4 separate regions of the Homo sapiens genome follow, and all the other regions are linked to region 2. Evidence: promoter capture Hi-C in human tissues and cell types (Jung and others, 2019). All regions are on one chromosome and are shown on one strand. The core of a region is centred on a gene start or on the middle of the fragment in contact, and the rest is flanking DNA. Distances in the headings are between cores, read along the strand shown.

Region 1 (2,700 bases), core at 81-2,580, 470 kb before region 2:
TGCACTACTGAACTCCAGCCTGGGCGTGACAGAGTGATACTCCGTCTTGAAAAAAAAAAAAGTATTGGCAATAGAGTGAACTCCACCTGGTTATCAATCCTAACTCCATCACTCACCAGCTCTGTGACTTGTTTAGTTATTTAATCTTTTTCAGTTTCAATGTCCTCATCTGGAAAACGGGAAATGCCTACCGAGTATTGAACTGTCAAGACTAAATGACACATGAAAAGCACACTGAACAATGCTTAATCCACGGTAGGCTTTCAGCAAATAGTGGTCTCTATTATTTTTTGCAACAGGATGTTATATAAGAATAAGGCATTATCAAGACGATTTTCGCCTATCAAATGTGTTGTCTGCGTGTACATCAGACCTTTTCCTGGAATGAAGGTAGAAAAGTATCAACAATAAAGGATGGAGAAAGCCCCGTAAATGATAACCTTTGCCCCAGAGGGAAAGGATGGGCAGCGGAGGGGAAAGTAAAGGGTGGCAAGCTAGAAAAATTAGACATCCAGTGTGGGAGGGCTGGCACTGGAGTGGGTTGCCACAGTAGGGAGGGGACTCAGAGCTGGAGGCAATTCCTTTGGCCGGGCTTGTCCTGCGACTTACCGTGGGGCAGCGCAATGTGGAGAGGCCTGGTAAAATGGCTGGGCAAGGGTGCGGAGGGGACATAACTGGCAGGAAGGAGTCATGATTCGTGGTCGAACAGAGTCCAGACCAGCTCGACCTGTGAGCAACGAACGGCCCTGAGACTCGCATACCCCAATACCGGTAGTGGCCGTGAAGGGCAAAGAAATGTGTTCTGAGGCGATCCCAGCATCTAAGCTGCGACTGGTCTACTCAGAGACTGGATGGAAGCTGGGAAGAGAAAGCTGCTTCCCGCTTCGGGGTGAGGGATGGAGGAAGGGAGAACAAGCAGTAGAGAAGAAAAAGTTTCAGATCCCACAGCCCCGGGGGGTCACTCCTGCTGGACCTACTCCGACCCCCTAGGGCCGGGAGTGAAGGCGGGACTTGTGCGGTTACCAGCGGAAATGCCTCGGGGTCAGAAGTCGCAGGAGAGATAGACAGCTGCTGAACCAATGGGACCAGCGGATGGGGCGGATGTTATCTACCATTGGTGAACGTTAGAAACGAATAGCAGCCAATGAATCAGCTGGGGGGGGCGGAGCAGTGACGTTTATTGCGGAGGGGGCCGCTTCGAATCGGCGGCGGCCAGCTTGGTGGCCTGGGCCAATGAACGGCCTCCAACGAGCAGGGCCTTCACCAATCGGCGGCCTCCACGACGGGGCTGGGGGAGGGTATATAAGCCGAGTAGGCGACGGTGAGGTCGACGCCGGCCAAGACAGCACAGACAGATTGACCTATTGGGGTGTTTCGCGAGTGTGAGAGGGAAGCGCCGCGGCCTGTATTTCTAGACCTGCCCTTCGCCTGGTTCGTGGCGCCTTGTGACCCCGGGCCCCTGCCGCCTGCAAGTCGGAAATTGCGCTGTGCTCCTGTGCTACGGCCTGTGGCTGGACTGCCTGCTGCTGCCCAACTGGCTGGCAAGATGAAGCTCTCCCTGGTGGCCGCGATGCTGCTGCTGCTCAGCGCGGCGCGGGCCGAGGAGGAGGACAAGAAGGAGGACGTGGGCACGGTGGTCGGCATCGACCTGGGGACCACCTACTCCTGGTAAGTGGGGTTGCGGATGCAGGGGGACGGGGCGTGGCCGCCTGGCCTGGCGTGAGAAGTGCGGTGCTGATGTCCCTCTGTCGGGTTTTTCTGCCAGCGTCGGCGTGTTCAAGAACGGCCGCGTGGAGATCATCGCCAACGATCAGGGCAACCGCATCACGCCGTCCTATGTCGCCTTCACTCCTGAAGGGGAACGTCTGATTGGCGATGCCGCCAAGAACCAGCTCACCTCCAACCCCGAGAACACGGTCTTTGACGCCAAGCGGCTCATCGGCCGCACGTGGAATGACCCGTCTGTGCAGCAGGACATCAAGTTCTTGCCGTTCAAGGTTCGACCGGGTTTTTCTCATCCAGTTAGAGAACGGGTGGGTGGTGGGAGTATTTAGAGTTATAAGTCTCTGGAAAAGTGTTGAGACAACAGTTGAAGGTTATAGACATGATGTATGTAATAACTTTAATACTATTAGTATGTTACAAAACTTAAGACAGTTGCTGTCGTACTGTCTACGATAGTTTAGGAATAAAAGACCGATTAAAACTGAACTTTGTAAGACACCTATACTCCCTGAAGTATTTCTAGTCAATTTGCAGCCCCAAGGGACCAAAATAAACCAAATTGTGGGGATGGTAGTGGGTCTTTTAAACTTTGAGATGTCATTGTATCTGTGTCTGAAAACAATAATTCTTTAAAATAGGTGGTTGAAAAGAAAACTAAACCATACATTCAAGTTGATATTGGAGGTGGGCAAACAAAGACATTTGCTCCTGAAGAAATTTCTGCCATGGTTCTCACTAAAATGAAAGAAACCGCTGAGGCTTATTTGGGAAAGAAGGTAAATATTTCTAGAACAATGTTAAGTATTTTTTGATCATTAGTATTCTCGGTTGGCTGTTATGTATAGAAGCCTTCGTGAAGGGTTTCAAAAATTTTAATCAGAATGGTATTCATGCTTGTCAGGTTTAATTATTGAGTCCCTTACTATAAGCCAAACAAAATAGACTTTTCATGTATTATTTAATGCTTACAATTCC
Region 2 (2,700 bases), core at 47-2,546:
CAGTTTCACCAGGGTTGGTAAGGTCCAGTTGCCCCCAAGTGCAGAGAAGCGTTGCAACTTTCGTAGCAGGTGAGGGACGGGGTATGGTGCGAAATGTGGGCAAGGGTCAGGCCAAGCAGGGATGCGAATGCCAGGACGAGGACTTAAAATTAGGCAAAAAAAAAATAAAAGGGCTAAGGGATTGGTGGGGCGGGTGGGGCAGGAGAGGGCGAATGAGCGGCCACCGAGGAAGCTGCAGCATAATCCGGCAGAGCAGAAGTGGGCAAAGCACCAACGTTCTCGTTCTTTGTCTTCAAGTGGGCCAGGTAGGCCTTAGACCCTTGGCGGCAGCAGCGAAATCCTTTCCCGATGGGGTCGCCGAAGACGGACACCCCGGCGGGCCTAGTGACCGGTGGCCGCGCGCCACCTGGTGGCCGCAGCGGGTGGATTCGGCCGGGAGCCGCTGCAAAATTCGGGATTTTGCTTCCGGAAAGCTTCGGGAAACTGAGGTGGGAGGGGCAGGGGTTTGCGATCTTCCAACTTGATCCTGTCCTTATTCCAACCCCCTTTTACAGATAGGGAAACTGAGGAAAGGGGAAGGCAAACAAGGCTGGGCAAGGGATCCCTCTTAAACGGAAGGTTTCAAGACACCTGGGGTCAAGAGCCTAGGGCTTTCTTTAATAGCCCCAATGGCCCGGAGCTTAGTTTGCCCATCTGTTCTATGGGCAGGGGGAAAATGAAAGGGGAGGAGGGGAAACTTTAGTCTTTGCCGCCCACCCGGAGGTAAAAAGTCTTTAAAGACTACCCCGGAAAGAAGAGTTTTATATATTCCATTTGCATACGAACGCAGTCACCTCGAGTTAAACTCCGGTCCTTTAATCTCCGGTCCAATTTGTCCCGCAGCGGCAGGGAGAGGCCCACGTGAGTACCTTCAAGCCCCGCCTCCAGGGCCCCGCCCACAGGGCTGGGCTTCGTTGCACGTGCTCACCCGGCTGCCTCGCGATCCACCTCCTCGCAAAGACTCATTGTTGGGGTGGGGGGTTACGAGGACTCTTAGGGAACTTTGATCAGGTAGAAATCACAATCAAGACAAGGCCCGGAAGTATCCGCTTACTACATAGACATCAAACGCTTTGTCATGGTTCTTGATATTGACAGACTTTAGCTTTCCCTTCTCAGGACTTCTTATCCCTCCTTCCACCCCTTCAGTTGGTGCGGTCGGCGTGGCCGGCCTCGCTGAGCGGACTCCAACTTCCAGCGTGCCCCGCAGGGCCTTGCGCGGCAGCGGCGTGTGACGTCAGGGGAGGGAGCTGGCCAGTGCTGAGGGGGCGCGGCGCGGAGGGGCGCGGAGCGGCGCGGAGCCGGGCGGCTCGGGGCCCAGAGAGAGCCGCGGCCGGGAGCTCGCGGGCTCCTGACAACCTCCTCCCCTCGGCGGACGACGACCACGGCGACTAGGGCGCCGGTCATGGCGGAGCAACAAACCCGGCGCGGACCCTAGGCACCACCGCATGGAGCGGGACGAACCGCCGCCTAGCGGAGGGGGAGGCGGCGGGGGCTCGGCGGGGTTCCTGGAGCCTCCCGCCGCGCTCCCTCCGCCGCCGCGCAACGGTGGGTGAGGGGCCTGCGACGCCCGGGCCAGGCAGGAACCGGCTTCCTGAGCCTCCGCCAGGGATCCCCCTCCTCTCTGCCGACCCTCGCCCTGGGAAGCCGCAGCGGCCCCGCGGCCCCTTAGGGTGGCCCTTCACCCCGTTCCCCGTTGGCGCGGACCCTCCCTCTCCTCCCCGGTCTCGCTCAGGGTGGATCCTCCTCCTTCGTCCCTGTTCCCTTCTGCGCGGACCCTCCCCCTGCCCGGGTCCCTGGGCACCGAGCTTCATTTCCCCCTCCCCCCGTCCCCTCTGCACAGGCTTCCCCTCCCCCCGTCCCCTCAGCACCAATCCTCCCTCCTCCCCCCGGGTCCCCTCCCCCTGTCTTCCCAGCACCGAACCTTCCCCTCCCCCCGGGCTCCTCAGGTTGGAAGTCCCCACCGCGGTCCGTCAGTGGGGGCATCCCCTCACTCGGGTTCCCTTAACGCAGAGCCTCTCTTTTCCCCTACAGGGGTTCCTCCTCCCACCGAGGACGCTCCCTTCTTGCCCTGTTGACCCGACTCCACAGCACCCTTGTACCGCTCAGCTTTCTAGAGCGTTTTCCTCTTCTGCAGCCTCGAGCGTTCTTCCTTGAATACTACGAGCCCCCCACCTCTGCCGAACCCCCGTTCGCTAGACATCCCCCAGTCGTTTCCTTTTTCGGACCCCTTCGCGCCTCCTGCTTCCCCTGCGCCTCACCTTCCTCAACGCCCCGCGCGCTCTGGCCGGTCTCCGCCCCTGCTCAGCTCCCCTCTCCGCCAGGCAACGGCTTTCCCTGGCCGAGGGCTCCAGCCCGCCCCGGGGCCCCGGACACCTGCCTCCTCCCGGCTTCTGCCCGGCAGGTCCCGGTCCCCACCTCTTAGTCTCAGTTCTCCTCTTTCTTGTCCCGATCCGGGACCTTGGGAGCTGAGAATCCCTCACCTGGCCCGGCCCTTCCTACCGCTCGTCCCTCGCCCCCTCGCCCGGGCCGGGTCCTCAGGTTCCTCGGGGCTTCCTCGCCCTCCTCCCCTTCGCTCCCTCCCCCTGCGGGGTGTTTTATTTGTATCTGTTTGATATTTTCCTCCTCGGTGTTTGCCGCGGAATGTTTTTATTGGTAACG
Region 3 (2,700 bases), core at 118-2,617, 340 kb before region 2:
CTACACATGGGCTTATCAGTACTTGGCGGAATACTTGAGAGAAACTCTCCCTAGATCTCTAATATTTTCTCTCTGTGCAGCTTTCTCCTCTACAGCATTCTGTCCTGTGCACTCTAGATGCCTTAGCGTCTCTAGACACTCAGCTCCATCTTTTTAACTCAGGGCCTCTGCCTGAGTTCCTCTTCCCTGCGCTACATCCTAGAAATGCTCTCAAGGCAGTCAGCTGGGGTAGTTGTAGGCCCTCCCTTCTTTTGTCCTCAGAGATCACTGTCCTTGCTGCCTAATGTCCAATGTCTTGAAAACCACTATTTAGTCCAGGGATGTACAATCTTTGGCTTCCCTGGGCCACACTGGAAGAAGAACAGTTGTCTTGGGCCACATATAAAATACACTAACACTAATGATAGCTGATGGACTAAAAAAAAAAAAAAATTTTCACAAAAAAAGTCTCATAATGTTTTAAGGAAGTTTGCGAATTTGTGTTGGGCCACATTCAAAGCCATCCTGGGTTGCGTGTGGTTCATGGGCCATGGGTTGGACAAGCTTGATTTACTCTATTTCATCTGCTTTCTTCCTTTTTTTCCAGATAGGAGGGTAAATCTAGTCCCCGTTACTATACCTTGGATAGAAGTAGAAGTCTTTGAGGTCTTTTTAAAAAATTCTGAATGGATGTTTAATTTTATCAAATGCTTTTTCTGTATCTATTGAGAAGATCATATGATTTTTTTTCTTTCTCTTTTTTTCCTTCTAATGTGTTGAATTAATTTGATTGATTTTTTTTTTAAATGTTAAACCAACCTTAAATTTCTGGAACAAACCCAACTTAGTCACGATCCTTTTTTAACATATTGCTGAATTCAATTTACTCATATGTGTTTTAAGATTTTTACATCTATATTTTGTACATACACTGCCCTTCTTCAGGTTTGGACATCAAGATTTTCCTTATAAATGGTTATCCAAGGTTATAGTGGGTGGGAAATGTTCTCTCTTTTTCTCTAGAAAAGTTTGCATAATACTGGTGTTCTTTTTTAAAGAGAAGCGGTTTAATTGGTTCACGGTTCCACAGGCTGTTCAGGAAGCATGGCAGCATCTGCTTCTGGGGAGGCCTCAGGGCGCTTTTACTCATGGTGGAGGCAAAGCGGGAGCAGGCCTCTTAAATGGCAGGAGCAGAACCATATTAGTCCATTCTCATACTGCTATATAGAAATAACTGAGACTGGGTAAATTTGTAAAGAAATAGGCTTAATTGGCTCACAGTTCTACAGGCAGAACAGGAAGCACAGCAGCTTCTGCTTCTGTGGAGGCCTCATGGTGGAAGGTGAAGGAGAAGCAGGCAGGTCTTACATGGCTGGAGCAGGAGCAAGAGAGTGGGGAGGCAACCAGATCTCACGAGAACTCACTATTGCCAATTGAAATCATGAGGAACTACCCCCATGATCCAATTCCCTCCCACCAGACTCCACCTCCAACATTGGGGATTGCTGTTCAACATGAGATTTGGTCAGGGATACAGATGCAAACCATATCAGTCGTCCAGGCTGGTCTTGAACTCCTGGCCTCAAGTGATCCTCCCACCTCAGTCTCTTGAATAGCTGGGATTATAGGTGTGTGCCACCATCCCCAGCTAATTTTTAAAATTGTGTTTTAGAAACATAGTCTCACATTTGGACCACTGTTTAATTACAGATCTACTTCTCTAACAGATATAGGATTGTTTAGGTTTTCCATTTGCACTTGTTTCGGTTTTGGTCAGCTGTGTTTTTCTATGAAGACAAATGATCTGTTCAAGGTCATACATCTTATAATGAATAAACTTTCCAATCTTAAACTTTTTCAAATGGTGTCATACCAACATAATACGTATGTTTAAATTTGTAAACTCTTTTATCCTCTCTACTAGAATATCAACTAGTGGGTAGATTCTGTATTTACTAAAACTTCCTATCATCTGAGTCTTAAGGCCTATAAACAGATATTTGAATTAAATTAAAGCATGCTTGGGGCCAGACATGGTGGCTCATGCCTGTAATCCCAGCACTTTGGGAGGCCGAGGCGGGTGGGTCACTTGAGGTCAGGAGTTTGAGACCAGCCTGGCCATCATGGCGAAACCCCATCTCTACTAAAAAATACAAAAATTAGCTGGGCGTGGTGGTGCGTGCCTGTAATCTCACCTACTTGGGAGGCTGAGGCAAGAGAATTGCTTGAACCTGGAAGGTGGCGGTTGCAGTGAGCCGAGATCACATCACTGCCCTCCAGCCTGGGAGACAGAGTGAGACTGTGCCTCAAAAATAAATACATAGATAGATAGATAGATAGATAGATAGATAGATAGATAAATGGAAACCTTGATTTAAGTAGTTGCTTCAGTAGTTCATTTGGGCTTTGTCAGTCAATAACACATTTTACTTCTGTAGTAATGGGTTACTGATAAGGGAAAGATATGTTAGGGTATGTATTGAATAAAAAGGTGGGAATGGTGAATTGAAAGTATAGTTCTTTAAATTATTTACTCATTTTTTTAAAATTGTTTGGTGTTTTATTAAATACATGGCACTTTAATAACAAATGTAAGCTCCTCTTTCTCTGTTACCAGAGACCTGTCTTTTATTATTATTATTATTATTATTTTTTAAAATTGATAATTCTTGGGTGTTTCTCGCAGAGGGGGATTTGGCAGGGTCATAGGACAATAGTGGA
Region 4 (2,700 bases), core at 73-2,572, 380 kb after region 2:
TTTCCCCTTCCCCAGTTTGAGAGTTAGTGAGCACCTTATTAGAAAAAGCAAATTTCTACCTTTCAGGTCCTTCCTAGCTTTTGACTTAGAAGCAGCAGGTTTTAGGAAATTATTTCAGTCTTTTACTGTTTCTTTAGCATATCTAATAACATAGATTATAGAATTGCTAAGTTTGTTGAGTATTTTAGTGAACTCTGACATAGAAAAATAACACATTTAAATGTACAGAACAAGTAAAAGCAATATCTAGATTGTAAAATTTCAGATTTCATCCTGAATTGGATTGTTCGCTCAGAAAAAGTTAGTTTCAAAGTGAGTTACTAATCCTGGTAAGCTAAGATCGAAACACCTTCAGAGGTTTTAGAAAATGGAGACTAATTTTAGGTTTTTTTTTTTTTTTGAATGAGACTATTTTAAAATAAATGCTGTTATAACAGATACTTGAGTGGCATTGCTAAACAGTGAATGGCATATGTTTAATCATTTAAAACATTTAACTAAATTCCAGTCTCATTTGAATTTCCAAGCAAAACAACACAAATTAACTATATCCAGATGTGTGTGGTAATCGAGCTGAAATCTAAAGAAGAAGCAAGTTTGAAAGCATGCTTTTTTGGGGTGGGGAGCTAAGAAAAGATAGCTCCATCTCCCAGGCTTACTTGCTAATCTTGATTTCAAGCATTTGGCTTTGCTATTTAAGAGGCAAACGTGGTGGAATGGAAAGAACATCGCACACTTTAAATTCAGAAAGATCTGGCTTCAGAATCCCAGATTTGCTTATCACTGGCTGTGTGATCTGGGCACGTTCCTTATCTTTGAGCTTTATTCTCCTTTTGTAAAATGGGACTACTACTACTTGCCATGCCTGAAGAGCAAACAAAACTGATGTGACTGTGCTGTGAAAGTTCTTAAGTACCGTGTGCATCTGTTGTAGTTTGTTCAGTGCTGTGTTTGCCAAGAGTACACTTCTGGATAAGTGGGGTCTAGCCCCATGCTGAAACGCTCAGAGGACTTCATTATTAAGATGATTGTACCTCTAAGACGGTCCTAAGGAAGCCCTCCTAAGGACGTTAGGCAGGAGAGACATGGTGTATTTGTTTGTGATGATTGATTGCTGTTGTTCTTTGGGTCTGTTGACTCATGCATGGATTGACCTTTAGGCCCTTGTATACAAATGTAAGGAATAAGCTGCCTGCTGCTGCTGTTACACGGAGACTGTGACAGCTAGCAAAGTCTTGGTCTTTTGCTTGTTTTTTCCATCCCCTCACAATGTTGGATTTTCTTCAATTTTTTATACCTTAAAAAATTGCTATTAATGCCTGCACTTTGAAGAAAAATTTAAAAATACAAGTAAAAAGAAAATAGCACCACCCAGAAATAAGCTTAATATTTTGATTTATATGCTTCCAGGTTTGTATAATATATAGTGCATAAGCATGTCTGTTAATTTTGCTTTAGAACATGTTTTTCCCCCACTAAATACTATAGCATGGATCTCTTCCCATTGCCAAAAAAATGTACTTCTACTTTGTCATGTTTAATGTCTGTGTGTATAGTATTTTATTGTTTATTTTCCCTGGCTCCTGATTGTTGAACCTTTACATTTACTTCCAGGTATTTTTTTTTTCCCCTTTAATCTAAACAATGATCTTTTAAGATACGTGACTTGGGTACTTGTCCATGTGTTTCTTTAGAATAAGTCCCTAAGAGATTTGCTGGTTTGGTGGGTATGTATAGCTGTATGATTTCCAATCGATGTTTCTACATTGCCCATTAGAAGAGTTCTATCCATTTCTGCTTCTCCAAGTGTGTCAAAGTACCCATTTGATCACACCTTTGTCAGCACTATTATTCTTTTTAATCTTTGCTAATTAAAAAGGCAAAAGGTAGTTATTTTACTTCAATTCATATTTCTTTGATTGCTAGTGAACTTGATCAGTGTTGCTTAATGTATATAGGCCTCTACCTTTTCTCTTTCGTAAACTACTGTCTTCTCTCTTGGAGTCTTGATGTAGTTATCTGTGAGCTCTTTTTAGTTATTAATGTTCTGCATGTTGCATGTATTTTTCGGAGTTTCAGGGCTTTTATTTTACATTCTTAAAGGAGCTAGTAATTTTGTTTATAAGCTAGTGGGCCTGCTATTATAAGATGTTTCATTGTAACAGACTGGCTGGAGGTGTGGTCCTTGTGGAACTGGTGCTTGGGACTCCTTCTCCTGGGGCGCAGCAGATGTGGGTGACAAGAGGGTCTGTGGGTGAGTCCGGCCCTGACAGAGCTGGGAAGCAGGCCAGGTGCTCTTTCCAGGACTCCACAGGGCATTGGTTGCAGGAGGAGCTTTGAATGAGGACCTAGCTGGAGCAGCTGTGGAGTGTCTGCAGTGGATGGGGGAGTGCCCTGCAGGTGAAAGGGAAAGAGACATTTGTCCTCCCTGCCTCCCTGTCTCTCCACAGCCCGGCTTCTTGGTGGGTTGGGGTGGCGGGTGTTGAACAGGGTGTGTAGGTGGGCTTGGGGGAGGGCAGTGGATGCAGGAGGTCAGTCTGAGGGGACTAGGTAGCCATCATAGTGTCCTCACTTACATTCACCTAAGTGCTGGTCACTGAATTGCACCTTGTTTTTCTGTTTTAAAGAGCTTTGTTCTGGAAGCAGTACTGGGTACTCAGTAACCGTGGGTGTGCTGAAAGGCAGGCTTGGGGAAGGTTG

Evidence for each region. Contacts are between HindIII fragments. The study calls those that stand out against the background at their distance.
Region 1: a contact is called between the fragment with the promoter of HSPA5 here and the fragment with the promoter of NR6A1 in region 2, in 1 of the 25 tissues and cell types used here (hippocampus).
Region 3: a contact is called between a fragment that was not itself captured here and the fragment with the promoter of NR6A1 in region 2, in 2 of the 25 tissues and cell types used here (dorsolateral prefrontal cortex and lymphoblastoid cells).
Region 4: a fragment that was not itself captured here is called in contact with the fragment with the promoter of NR6A1 in region 2 in 1 of the 25 tissues and cell types used here (IMR-90 fibroblasts).

Annotation. Positions count from the first base shown.
Region 1 is chr9:125,239,973-125,242,672 of GRCh38, reverse strand. HSPA5 (heat shock protein family A (Hsp70) member 5) reads left to right here and starts at 1,330. Exons shown (of 8, transcript NM_005347.5): 1 at 1,330-1,668; 2 at 1,766-1,997; 3 at 2,364-2,501. The coding sequence starts at 1,547. It overlaps HSPA5-DT (HSPA5 divergent transcript), which reads right to left and starts at 1,017. Exons shown (of 3, transcript NR_186826.1): 1 at 610-1,017. RefSeq lists enhancers at 732-1,041, 691-1,195, 1,009-1,303, 1,196-1,700, 1,842-1,921. The HindIII fragment of the contact is 17,872 bases long and covers 1-2,700 here.
Region 2 is chr9:124,769,907-124,772,606 of GRCh38, reverse strand. NR6A1 (nuclear receptor subfamily 6 group A member 1) reads left to right here and starts at 1,296. Exons shown (of 10, transcript NM_033334.4): 1 at 1,296-1,587. The coding sequence starts at 1,488. LOC124900274 (a long non-coding RNA gene) reads left to right here and starts at 2,127. Exons shown (of 2, transcript XR_007061773.1): 1 at 2,127-2,700. It overlaps LOC107987126 (a long non-coding RNA gene), which reads right to left and starts at 1,250. Exons shown (of 2, transcript XR_001746926.3): 1 at 834-1,250. RefSeq lists enhancers at 897-1,156, 947-1,514 and silencers at 1,227-1,806, 2,347-2,596. The HindIII fragment of the contact is 6,332 bases long and covers 1-2,700 here.
Region 3 is chr9:125,109,292-125,111,991 of GRCh38, reverse strand. All of the region lies in intron 2 of SCAI (suppressor of cancer cell invasion), which reads left to right. Among named protein-coding and RNA genes, the nearest start is that of SCAI, 33 kb to the left of the region's middle. The HindIII fragment of the contact is 3,457 bases long and covers 1-2,700 here.
Region 4 is chr9:124,389,346-124,392,045 of GRCh38, reverse strand. The region is part of intron 5 of PSMB7 (proteasome 20S subunit beta 7); the gene reads left to right. Among named protein-coding and RNA genes, the nearest start is that of PSMB7, 25 kb to the left of the region's middle. The HindIII fragment of the contact is 4,032 bases long and covers 1-2,700 here.